3 separate regions of the Homo sapiens genome follow, and regions 2 and 3 are each linked to region 1. Evidence: promoter capture Hi-C in 16 types of primary human blood cells and fetal thymus (Javierre and others, 2016). All regions are on one chromosome and are shown on one strand. The core of a region is centred on a gene start or on the middle of the fragment in contact, and the rest is flanking DNA. Distances in the headings are between cores, read along the strand shown. Region 1 holds the start of KCTD7 (potassium channel tetramerization domain containing 7). Region 2 overlaps LINC03006 (long intergenic non-protein coding RNA 3006). Region 3 overlaps ASL (argininosuccinate lyase).

What was found. Contacts are between HindIII fragments. The CHiCAGO score rates a contact against its expected background, and 5 or more counts as called.
Region 2: a fragment that was not itself captured here is called in contact with the fragment with the promoter of KCTD7 in region 1 in 2 of 17 cell types (neutrophils and non-activated CD4 T cells); the score reaches 7.4 in neutrophils.
Region 3: a contact is called between a fragment that was not itself captured here and the fragment with the promoter of KCTD7 in region 1, in 1 of 17 cell types (endothelial precursors). The highest score is 5.8, in endothelial precursors.

Annotation. Positions count from the first base shown.
Region 1 is chr7:66,627,020-66,630,485 of GRCh38, forward strand. It overlaps KCTD7 (potassium channel tetramerization domain containing 7), which reads left to right and starts at 1,862. Exons shown (of 4, transcript NM_153033.5): 1 at 1,862-2,189. The coding sequence starts at 2,046. RefSeq lists silencers at 443-642, 1,653-2,222. The HindIII fragment of the contact is 8,113 bases long and covers 1-3,466 here.
Region 2 is chr7:65,751,326-65,754,791 of GRCh38, forward strand. All of the region lies in intron 2 of LINC03006 (long intergenic non-protein coding RNA 3006), which reads right to left. It also overlaps the pseudogene CCT6P1. Among named protein-coding and RNA genes, the nearest start is that of SNORA22, 2.5 kb to the right of the region's middle. The HindIII fragment of the contact is 2,092 bases long and covers 865-2,956 here.
Region 3 is chr7:66,079,344-66,082,809 of GRCh38, forward strand. ASL (argininosuccinate lyase) reads left to right here. Exons shown (of 17, transcript NM_000048.4): 3 at 2,460-2,654; 4 at 3,025-3,108. Among named protein-coding and RNA genes, the nearest start is that of ASL, 5.3 kb to the left of the region's middle. The HindIII fragment of the contact is 886 bases long and covers 1,581-2,466 here.

The sequences.
Region 1 (3,466 bases), core at 612-3,111:
TATTTTGAAATATACAATCCATTGTTGTTAATTATAGTCACTACTCTGCTTTTGAACCATAGAACATAAACCTTTTTATCTAACTGTATGTCCTTCATTAACCTAAATCTCTTCATTTCTCACCCAACCGTTCCCAGCCTCTGGTTTCTTTCTACTCTCTAAATTTATGAGATCGATTTGTTTTAGCTGCCACAGATAAGAACATGCAATATTTATGTCTTTCTGTGCCTGGCTTATTTCACTTAACATAATGACGTCCATCCACGTTGCTGCAGATGACGTGATTTCATTCCTTTTCATCTGTGTTTAAACAAGGTCTCCCTCCAGGGATTTTGATGCAACTGAAGTTGGAGAAAACACAGACCTAGGACACTCCTGCAGCTGGGAGTGCGATGGTCTAACAGAGGAAGTGCTATGCCACCAGCTCATCTTTGCCATCCTGGAGCTGTCTAATCTACGACTCAGTTTTCTTTTCTGTCACTACACTGTGAGAATGAGATGAGGAACTGGGTGTGAAAACGGTTTGAAAAGGAGAAGCATGGTTGCACACGCCTGCGATCCCAGCACTTTGGGAGGCTGACGAGGGAGGACAGCTTGAGGCAAGGAGTTTGAGACCAGCCTGGGCAACATGACAAGACCCCATTTCTTAAAAAAAAAAAAAAAAAAAAATTTTTTTTTCTTTTTTGAGACGGAGTTTCGCTCTTGTTGCCCAGGTTGGAGTATAGTGGCCGTGATCTCGCCTCACTGCAATCTCCATCTCCTGGGTTCAAGCGATTCTCCTGCCTCAGCCTCCCTAGTAGCTGGGATTGCAGGTGTGCCACCATGCCTGGCTAATTTTGTATTTTTAGTAGAGATGAGGTTTCACCATGTTGGCCAGGCTGGTCTCAACTTCCTGACCTCAGGTGATCCACCCGCATCGCTTACCAAAGAGCCAGGATTACAGGCGTGAGCCACTGCGCCCGGCCAAAATTTTAAAAAATCAGCTGAGTGTGGTGGTGCGCGTCTGTGGTCCCAGCTACTCGGGAGGCTGGGGCGGGAGGATTGCTTGAGCCCAGGGGTTGCAATGAGCTATGATTGCGCCACTGCACTTCAGCCTGGGTAACAGAGTGAGACTTTGTCTTTTAAAGAAAGGAGAAAATGGCTTGAACGGGCTAAGAACCTTGACCCCCAGGAGACTCCCTGCGCTGATAGAGCCTCTAGGGCTGGACTCCGCCTCCCAGGGAGCCGGGAGCATCTTGGGGAAGGGCCTGTCTCCATCTGTGTGTCCCGGTGGAAAAACGGTCACGGTGGGGAGTCACTGTCATTATTCATTGAACTCAAGCGCTCCTATTTTGGGTTTTCTCGTTCGGATTTCTGCGCGAGCGAGTGAGGAAGAACTGGACACCCGGGCGGTGCCCTGCGGCTCGGGGCGGGGCCAGCCGCGGTGGCGTGTCCGCAGCCACCTCAGCCCTCCTCCCGCCACATCCTCCAGGAAAGGCTGCTCAGGCCTTCCATTGAGGAGACAAGGACCCGCTGCTCTGGGGCCAGACACACGAGTAAGTCGTGACCCCCTGTGTGAAGGGATAAGGCGTCTACCCTGACGCGGGTGAGAACCCTCTTCACGGCAGACTCCGACGCCCAGTTATGAGAGCGTAGCGGCGCACCACCGCCGGGTCTCTCGGAGAGGGCGCGCCCGCTGGCCAGAGGACCAATCAGTGCACGGCAGGCTCGCAGGCCGCCCCCCCCCCCCCCCCCCAACCCAGGGACCACTCAGGCGCCGGCCGCTGGCGCTGCCTGCTCTTCGACTGGGCGAGCTTCCTGCCAATCAGGGCGGAACCAGCGCGGCGTCGGCCAGTAGCGGGAGGCGGTCGGGTCAGGCCCCAGCTGGGCGCGAGCGGGTCGGCGTTGAGGGAGCCACCGCCCTCCCGCCTGCGCACTGCCTCTCGCCCCCCTCCGGCCAGCCCGCAGCCGGCCGCGTCATGCCAGGCGCTGCTCGGCGGTAGGGAGTGCCCGGGGCCGCCGCCTCCGCCCGCCCGAAGCCGCGCCCACTGCCCAGAGCCAGAGGGATGGTGGTAGTCACGGGGCGGGAGCCAGACAGCCGTCGTCAGGACGGTGCCATGTCCAGCTCTGACGCCGAAGACGACTTTCTGGAGCCGGCCACGCCGACGGCCACGCAGGCGGGGCACGCGCTGCCCCTGCTGCCACAGGAGGTACCCGGGCGGGCGGCGGGCCGCGGGGCGTGGGGAGGGGCGCGGGGGAGAAGCGGGCGCGGGGCATAGCGGTCCTCGGCGGGTGGGCGGGGCCGGGGTTGGGGGCGGGGCCCGCGGACTTGCGCCCCTCCCCCGCCCACCTGCAACTCCCCCGCCCACCTGCACCCCTACCCACCCACCTTCAACCCCTGTCAATTACACCCACTAGGTGTGCTTCCCCACCCCCTACACCCTCCGCCCAGTAGTCACTGGGGTGATTTACTCCCATCGCCATGTCCCACTTTTACCGAAGACAGGAGGGAGGGTGGGCCGTGGGAGGGGGACCCTGGAGCCCCGAGAGCTGATGGTGTGTCTGACCAGGCACCGTAGCTCGAGCCTGTAATCCCAACACATTGGGAGGGAGGATCGCTTGAGGGCAGGAGTTGGAGGCCAGCCTGGGCAACATAGCGAGGCCCCGTCCCTACTACGACTGGAAAAACAAAGGCATTTTGGGTTGGATGAATAAAAAAAAGAAAAGAAAAAGATGTCTTCTAGAGAATCCAACAGGATGCTGTAGTGGTTGCCCACACCTAGTCTCCAGCTACCTAAGGAACAAGGCAAGGAGCTGTCTGCACATAAGGGGCAGGCCAGTTCATAGATGTAGGCACGGTCACCTGGCATCCCATGGCTTTCACTCACAGGCTGCTGTGCTCTGGTGCACAGGGGCTTCCACGGGTCTTACTTAATGTGTGTGATACTATCATGTCAACACCTGAAATGACACTCAAGAGACGGGAGAAGATACCAGGCATGGTGGCTCACATCTGTAATCTCAGCAGTTTGGGATGCTGAGGTGGGAGGATTGCTTGATCCCAGCAGTTAGAGACTAGTCAGGGCAACAGTGAGACCCTGCCTCTACAAAAATGAAAATTAGCCAGGCTTGGTGGTGTGTGCCTGTAGTCCCAGGTGCTCAGGAAGGTGAGTTGGGAGGATTGCTTGAGCCCTGGAGGTTGAGGCTGCAGTGAGCTGTAATTGTGCCACTGTACTCCAGCCTGGGTGTGATAGAGTAAGACCGTACCTACAAACAAACAAAAACAAAAAAAGCAAGAGAAGGGAAACGATGCCAGGTGTGGTGGCTTACACTTGTAATCCCAGCACTTTGGGAGGTCAAGGCAGGAGGATGGTTTGAGGCCAGGAGTCTGGGACCAGCTTGGGCAACACAGACTCCATCTCTACAAATAAAAAATAAAGAGGAGGGAAGGTGAAGCATTACTGGACACCGAAGATGGCTTCTAGGA
Region 2 (3,466 bases), core at 661-3,160, 880 kb before region 1:
CGCACCTGGCGGGCCCAAGACCGCAGATGGGAGCCCGCTGCCTCGGGGCTCCGCAGCCACCCTTCCTCGCGTCCTCCCGGGCCGGTCCTGTTCCCTGCTAAGCCCCACCGTTGCGTCCATTTCTTCCTGCGTCGATGCCGTCTCCATGGAGAAAAAAGCGGCTCTAGTGTGCGGCGTTCCCCGCCTTCTTGGGCTTCCAGACACCCTGAGGACTCTGCACAATCTCTGCGGGGACGGGGTGGGCACTACACTTGTCCTCCAGCCTGCGGGAGATAACTAGCTCCATATTCTCGGCTCCCTAAGATCGGGGAAAAGCCCGTTTTCTAATGGGACTTTTTAATTTAGTTTTCGTTGATAACTAGCTCCATATCCCTGGCTCCCTGAGATCTGGGAAAAGTCCTTTTTTGTTGTTTGTTTTGGTTTTTTGTTGTTTTTTTTTTTGAGACAGAGTCTCGCTCTGTCACCCAGGCTAGAGTGCAGTGGCGCGATCTCGGCTCACTGCAAGCTCCGCCTCCCGGGTTCATGTCTTTCTCCTGCCTCAGTCTCACGAGTAGCTGGGACTACAGGCGCCCGTCACCACGCCCAGCTTGCTTTATTTATTTATTTATTTATTTATTTTGTATTTTTAGTAGAGATGGGGTTTCACCGTGTTAGCCAGGATGGTCTCGATATCCTGACCTCGAGATCCACCCGCCTCGGCCTCCCAAAGTGCTGGGATTACAGGCGTGAGCCACCGCACCCGGCTGGAAAAGCCCATTTTCTAATGGGACTTTTTAATTTAGTTTTCGTTTTAATTTCGTTTTTGTCACAATTTGATTGATTTCTGTCCCTTAAACAGTCTTGTTTCTGGCGCTGGAGACATCAAGCTTACTAAAGACACAGGAGTTGACGATCAGCCCTGGCCAACATGGTGAAACTCAGTCTCTACTAAAAATACAAAAATTAGCCGGGCACGGTCCTGCACAGTGCGCTGCTTCACGAAATGGTGAGAGGTGCTCTGCTAGGTCAGAAATGTCTTGATTTTCCGTAGAACTTTTGCTTTGTAGAAAGATTTGCAATGTCCATTCTCAAGGTAGGAGAACATTCAGAAGTGACATGTAACAGTGACAGTAATAGTACTGACTGTGCCTGGAGTCTGACAGCCCTGTCTTTGAATCCCTGCTTTTTTGCCATTCACAGTCTGGGCTAAAGGACTGTAATTGTACATTAATTATAATAAAATTTGAAAAATTAAGGGTGGTTGACACAATCACATGGGCAAAATGCATGAGGATGGTTTTTCTCTTTATGGGTTTTTTTTTTTTTTTTTTTTAAGACAGAATCTCACTCTGTCGCCCAGCCTGGAGTCCAGTGGTTCACTGCAACCTCCGCCTCCTGGGTTCAAGTGATTCTCCTGTCTCAGCCTCCCAAGTAGCTGGGATTACAGGCTTGCTCCACCATGCCCAGCTAATTTTTGTATTTTTTGTAGAGATGGTATTTCACCATGTTGGCCAGGCCGGTCTTGAACTCATGACTTCAGGTGATCCGCCTGAGTCAGCCTCCCAAAGTGCTGGGATTACCAGGCGTGAGCCACAGCATCTGGCCGGTTTTTCTCTTTTTAAAACAGCAATTTCTCTGTTATGTCTCATCTCCATCTCCAACTGGAGGGGAGAGAAATCTCTTTGCTTTAACATTTTTAAAGTCTTAGGGATGGAGAATATGAGATTATTGAAGGGAGTATGCGTTTTACTCATCCCTAAATTCCCAAAACTTAACAGTTCAAATCCAAGAAAGGGAAATGATTTCCTGCTGATTTGAGTTCAGAATAATCAGGGTTTTGCTAGTAGTATACCATGCTATCAACATCCAGATGAAATATCTTTAATAAAGACTTGCTAATCTAGGAGGTGTTTTTGTTTTTACTGGGTTCAGTGGTGGCTCGTGTTAGCAGAAAAGTGGAGCCACGGTTAAACTTGACGTCAGAATTGTTTTGGGGCCGGGTGCAGTGGCTCATTCTTGTAATCTCAGCACTTTGGAAGGCCGAGGTAGGTGGATCACTTGAGGCCAGGAGTTCACGATCAGCCCTGGCCAACATGGTGAAACTCCGTCTCTACTGAAAATACAAAAATTAGCCAGGCATGGTTCTGTACGCCTGTAGTCCCAGCTACTCCAGAGGCTGAGGCAGGAGAATCGATTGCTTGAACCTGGGAGGCTGAGGTTTCAGTGAGCCAAGATTGTGCCACTGCACTCTCCAGCCTAGGTGACAGAGTGAGACTGTCACCAAAAAAAAAAAAAAATTTATTTGGGTTTTAGTGTGTGAGAAATACAGCATAAGTAGAGAGAAGCACGTAGAACATTTACAATTTAGGAAATAATTATAAAGTGGACACACACAACCACTATTGTAGTTAAGAAATAAATTGTTGCTACCACCTCAGAAGTCCCCTCCCACTGGAACTTCTCTCCAATCTCCAGAAGTCTGTTTTTCAGTTTTCTTTGAAAAAATTACAAACCTACGAAAATAATGATTATATTGTGTGTGCCCTTTACCTAGATTCACCAATTGTTTACATGTTGCTCCATTTCTTTTCTATTTTTCCTCTGAATCATTTGAAGGTAAGCTGCAGACATGTCATTTTACCTTTAAAATACAATTTTTTTCCGCTTTTTTTTTTTTTTAAGAGATAGGATTTTGCCATGTAGCCCAGGCTGGTTTCGAATTCCTGAGTTCAAGGGATCCATCTGCTGTGGCCTCCCAAAGTGCTGGGATTACAGGCATGAGCTAACGCACCTGACCTTTCCTTTTAAATTACTTGGCCATTGCAGAGTAACAGTGGAGGCTGCTGAGCTTTCATTTTAGGAGATACCTGGCTTATTCTCGTAGAGCCCTACACTTGCCTAAAGAGGCAAGGATGTAAAATTATCCGTTACTGTTAACTGTTAGCTGTCATCTTGCGTAAACTTTCACTGAGCCTCAAGCTTCCTCATCTGTAAAGTAGAGATAACCTGGGAAATAAATTACACATGAAAATGTTTCCATCATTATAATTGCATGCGCATGATAGCAAATTGTGACTTTTTAATCTTAGTAATTTGTAGCCAAACACTTGGGTAGCTTTTTCAAGTAGATAGTACTTAAAGAGGCCCTTCATGCATTTTATTTGTGGTATTTTTAGACTGTTTCATATTGTTTTAAGTGATTCGTTCTTTTTCTACTTTCAGCAAATTCAACACCCAACAGCTTCCTTAATAGCAAAGGTAGCAACAGCCCAGGATGATATAACTGGTGATGGTACGACTTCCAATGTCCTAATCATTGGAGAGCTGCTGAAACAGGCAGATCTCTACATTTCTGAAGTATGCACAACTTTTTTTTGTTTTGTTTTTTTGAGATGGGATTTCACTCTTGTTGCCCAGGCTGGGGTGCAATGGCATCTCGGCTCACTGCAACGTCTGTCTCCTGGGTTCAAGCAATTCCCAGCCTCAG
Region 3 (3,466 bases), core at 774-3,273, 550 kb before region 1:
AAGTGACATGCCCACCTCTACCCCACCCTCCTCCCAGTCCTGGGCACTAGGGCTGCTCCCCAGGTGTTCTGTACCCCCTCCCCACTCTGTCCCATGCCCTGGCCTCTGCCCTCTTTCAAAACATAGATGTGGCTGGCGCCTAGGCTCATGCCTATAATCTCAGCACTTTGGGAAGCTGAGGCTGGAGGACAGCTTGAGCCCAGGAATTCAAGACCAGCCTGGGCAACATAGTGAGACCCTGTCTCTACCAATTATTTTATTTTATTTTATTTTGTTCATTTATTTATTTATTTTGAGACAGAGTTTTGCTCTGTCACCTAGGCTGGAGTGCAGTGGCGTGATCTTGGCTCACTGCAACCTCCGCCTCCCGGGTTCAAGCGATTCTCCTGCCTCAGCCTCCTAAGTAGCTGGAACTACAGGCGAGTGCCACCACGCCTGGCTAATTTTTGTATTTTTAGTAGAGACCAGGTTTCACCATGTTGACCAGGATGGTCTCTGTCTCCTGACCTCATGATCCACCCACCTTAGCCTTCCAAAATGCTGGGATTACAGGCATGAGCCACCACTCCCAGTCCTATAAAATTTTAAAAAAATGTCTGGGTGTGGTGGCGCATGCTTGTAGTCCCAACTATTGGGGAGGCTGAGGCAAGAGGATTGGTTGAGACCAGGAGTTTGAGGCTGCAGTGAGCTATGATGGTGCCACCGCACTCCAACCTGGGTAACAAAGTGAGACCCTGTGTCTAAAAAAGAATTTAAAGGCCGGGTGTGGTGGCTCACACCCGTAATCCCAGGACTTTGGGAGGCCGAGGTGGGCAGATCACGAGGTCAGATTAAGACCATCCTGGCTAACAAGGTGAAACCACGTCTCTACTGAAAAAAAAAAATACAAAAAATTAGCCAGGCATGGTGGTGGGCACCTGTAGTCCCAGCTACTCAGGAGGCTGAGGCAGGAGAATGGCGTGAATCTGGGAGGTGGAGCTTGCAGTGAGCCAAGATCCTGCCACTGCACTCCAGCCTGGGTGACAAAGAGAGACTCCATCTCAAAAAAAAAAAAAAAAAAAAAGAATTAAAAAAGATTTTTTTAATGAACAAAACAGGCTCGGCACAGTGGCTCATGCCTGTAATCCCAAGCACTTCGGGATGCCAAGGTCAGGGGATCACCTGAGATCAGGAGTTCGAGACCAGCCTGACCAACATGGTGAAACCCCGTCTCTACTAAAAATATAAAACTCAGCCAGGTGTGGTGGCACACGCCTGAAATTCCAGCTACTCGGGAGGCTGAGGCAGGAAAATTGGCTTGAAGCCGGGAGGTGGAGGTTGCAGTGAGCCGAGATCACGCCACTGCACTCCAGCCTAGGCAACAGAGTGAGACTCTATCTCAAAGAAAACGAACAAAACATAGATGCCTACATACCATTCCTCTGCCCTTGGCTCCTGGGGAGTAAGGGATCACCCAGTGACCTCCTAGAAGGCCAGTGACAATGGGGGGTGTCAGGGTGCTTTTCAGAGCCAAGGGAGTGGTAGGAATTGGGATCTTAGTCCAGCTCCAAGCTGTGAGGGAGAGAGTTGCAGGGCACTTAAGCTTGGTGGAGACCCTCAAGGCCTCTTTGCCTGTCCCTGCAGCAAAGGTTCTGGACACCAGAGCCAAGTCCAGAAGCCCTGGTGGAACAGGGGTGAAAAGCATAGGTTCTGACTTCAGACTGCTGGGCCGCAGCCCTGGCTATCCCACCCCAGGTGAGAGCAGGCTGCTCTGTGCCTCAGTTTCCCCATCTTCATAGTGGAATTGTATTGGTGCCTACCCAGAGGGTTGTGTCAACAATTAGGATGGCACCTAGCACCTTGGTCAGTGGTGGGAAAGGTTCCAGAAGTTCTGCTGTGGTCCCAGGGGTGTCTCAGGCCCTGCCATCATCTCCTTGGAGGGGTGCCATGTGGTGGGAAAGAACCCCAACTTCAAGGCCACACACAGTGGCTCATGCCTGTAATCCTAGCACTTTCAGAGGCCAAGATGGGAGGATCACCTGAGGTCAGGAGTTCAAGACCAGCCTGGCCAACATGGTGAAACCCCATCTCTACTAATGATACAAAAATTAGCTGGGTGTGGTGGCACGTGCCTGTAATCCCAGCTACTTGGGAGTCTGAGGCAGGAGAATCTCTTGAACCTGGGAGGCAGAGTTTGCAGTGAGCTGAGATGGCACCACTGTACTCCAGCCTGGCCGACAAAGTGAGACTCTGTCTCAAAAAAAAAAAAAAAGAACCCAAACTTTTGGTGTTCAGCCATGTTCCCATGCTCACTCCCAGGGTGGTGACTCTGGGAAGGTCTCAGCCTCCTTGTCTGCCCAGTTAGAATGATCTGATGCCCCTGCTACCATCAGACTTGATAAGTTTCCCAAAGACTCTTTGCAAGAAGCACTGTTCTGGAGGGTGGAGGAGAGACTAATTGTTCTTGCTCTCCTGGCCAGAGTGGGAAGCTTTGGGGTGGCCGGTTTGTGGGTGCAGTGGACCCCATCATGGAGAAGTTCAACGCGTCCATTGCCTACGACCGGCACCTTTGGGAGGTGGATGTTCAAGGCAGCAAAGCCTACAGCAGGGGCCTGGAGAAGGCAGGGCTCCTCACCAAGGCCGAGATGGACCAGATACTCCATGGCCTAGACAAGGTACTTGCCGTGGCCCAAGCCCCACCCAAGGCCCCTTCCCTGTGGCCCCAGGCTCCCACCAAATCCCTGAGCAAACAGTGCAGTGTTGCCCATCTGTGGTTTCACATTGAACTAATTATATACTCAAGTGCTGTTTAACTGTGTGCCTTGATGACTGCCTCTCTCCATCCTTTAATGACCCCTGTGGCCCACATGGCTCATGGGTAAAGGTGTGCTGGGCCTGAGATGCCCCCTCCCAGGGTGCGCTTCCAGGACTCAGCTCCTGGGCAGGGACAGTCAGTCACCAGGGATAGGGTGGGACCAAGGCAGGGGCTCTCTTGGCTGCTGATGCCTGCTCACCTGACCCCGGCATTGCTGCTACCCACTACAGGTGGCTGAGGAGTGGGCCCAGGGCACCTTCAAACTGAACTCCAATGATGAGGACATCCACACAGCCAATGAGCGCCGCCTGAAGGTACGACCCCTGGAGCCCCACCGCTTTCCTTGCCTCCCCTCTCCACCTTGCCCAGGGCCACTTTGAGCATTAGCACCATTCTGTTTACTTCGCCATTGGCAGACAGCATGTGAGACCTCAGGACATGAGCCAGGCACCCTGGCTCATGCCTATAATCCTAGCACTTTGGGAGGCTGAGGTGGGAGGATTGCTTGAGACCAGGAGTTCGAGACCAGCCTGGGCAACATAATGAGGTCCCACAGCTACAAAAATTAAAAAAAGAAAAGAAAAAAAGAACAGGCCTCAGCAGAAATGGCGAGAGATTTGGGGAGGACCCGGAGCCCTGGGGTATGGAGGTAGGTTGGCAGGGCTGATGAGG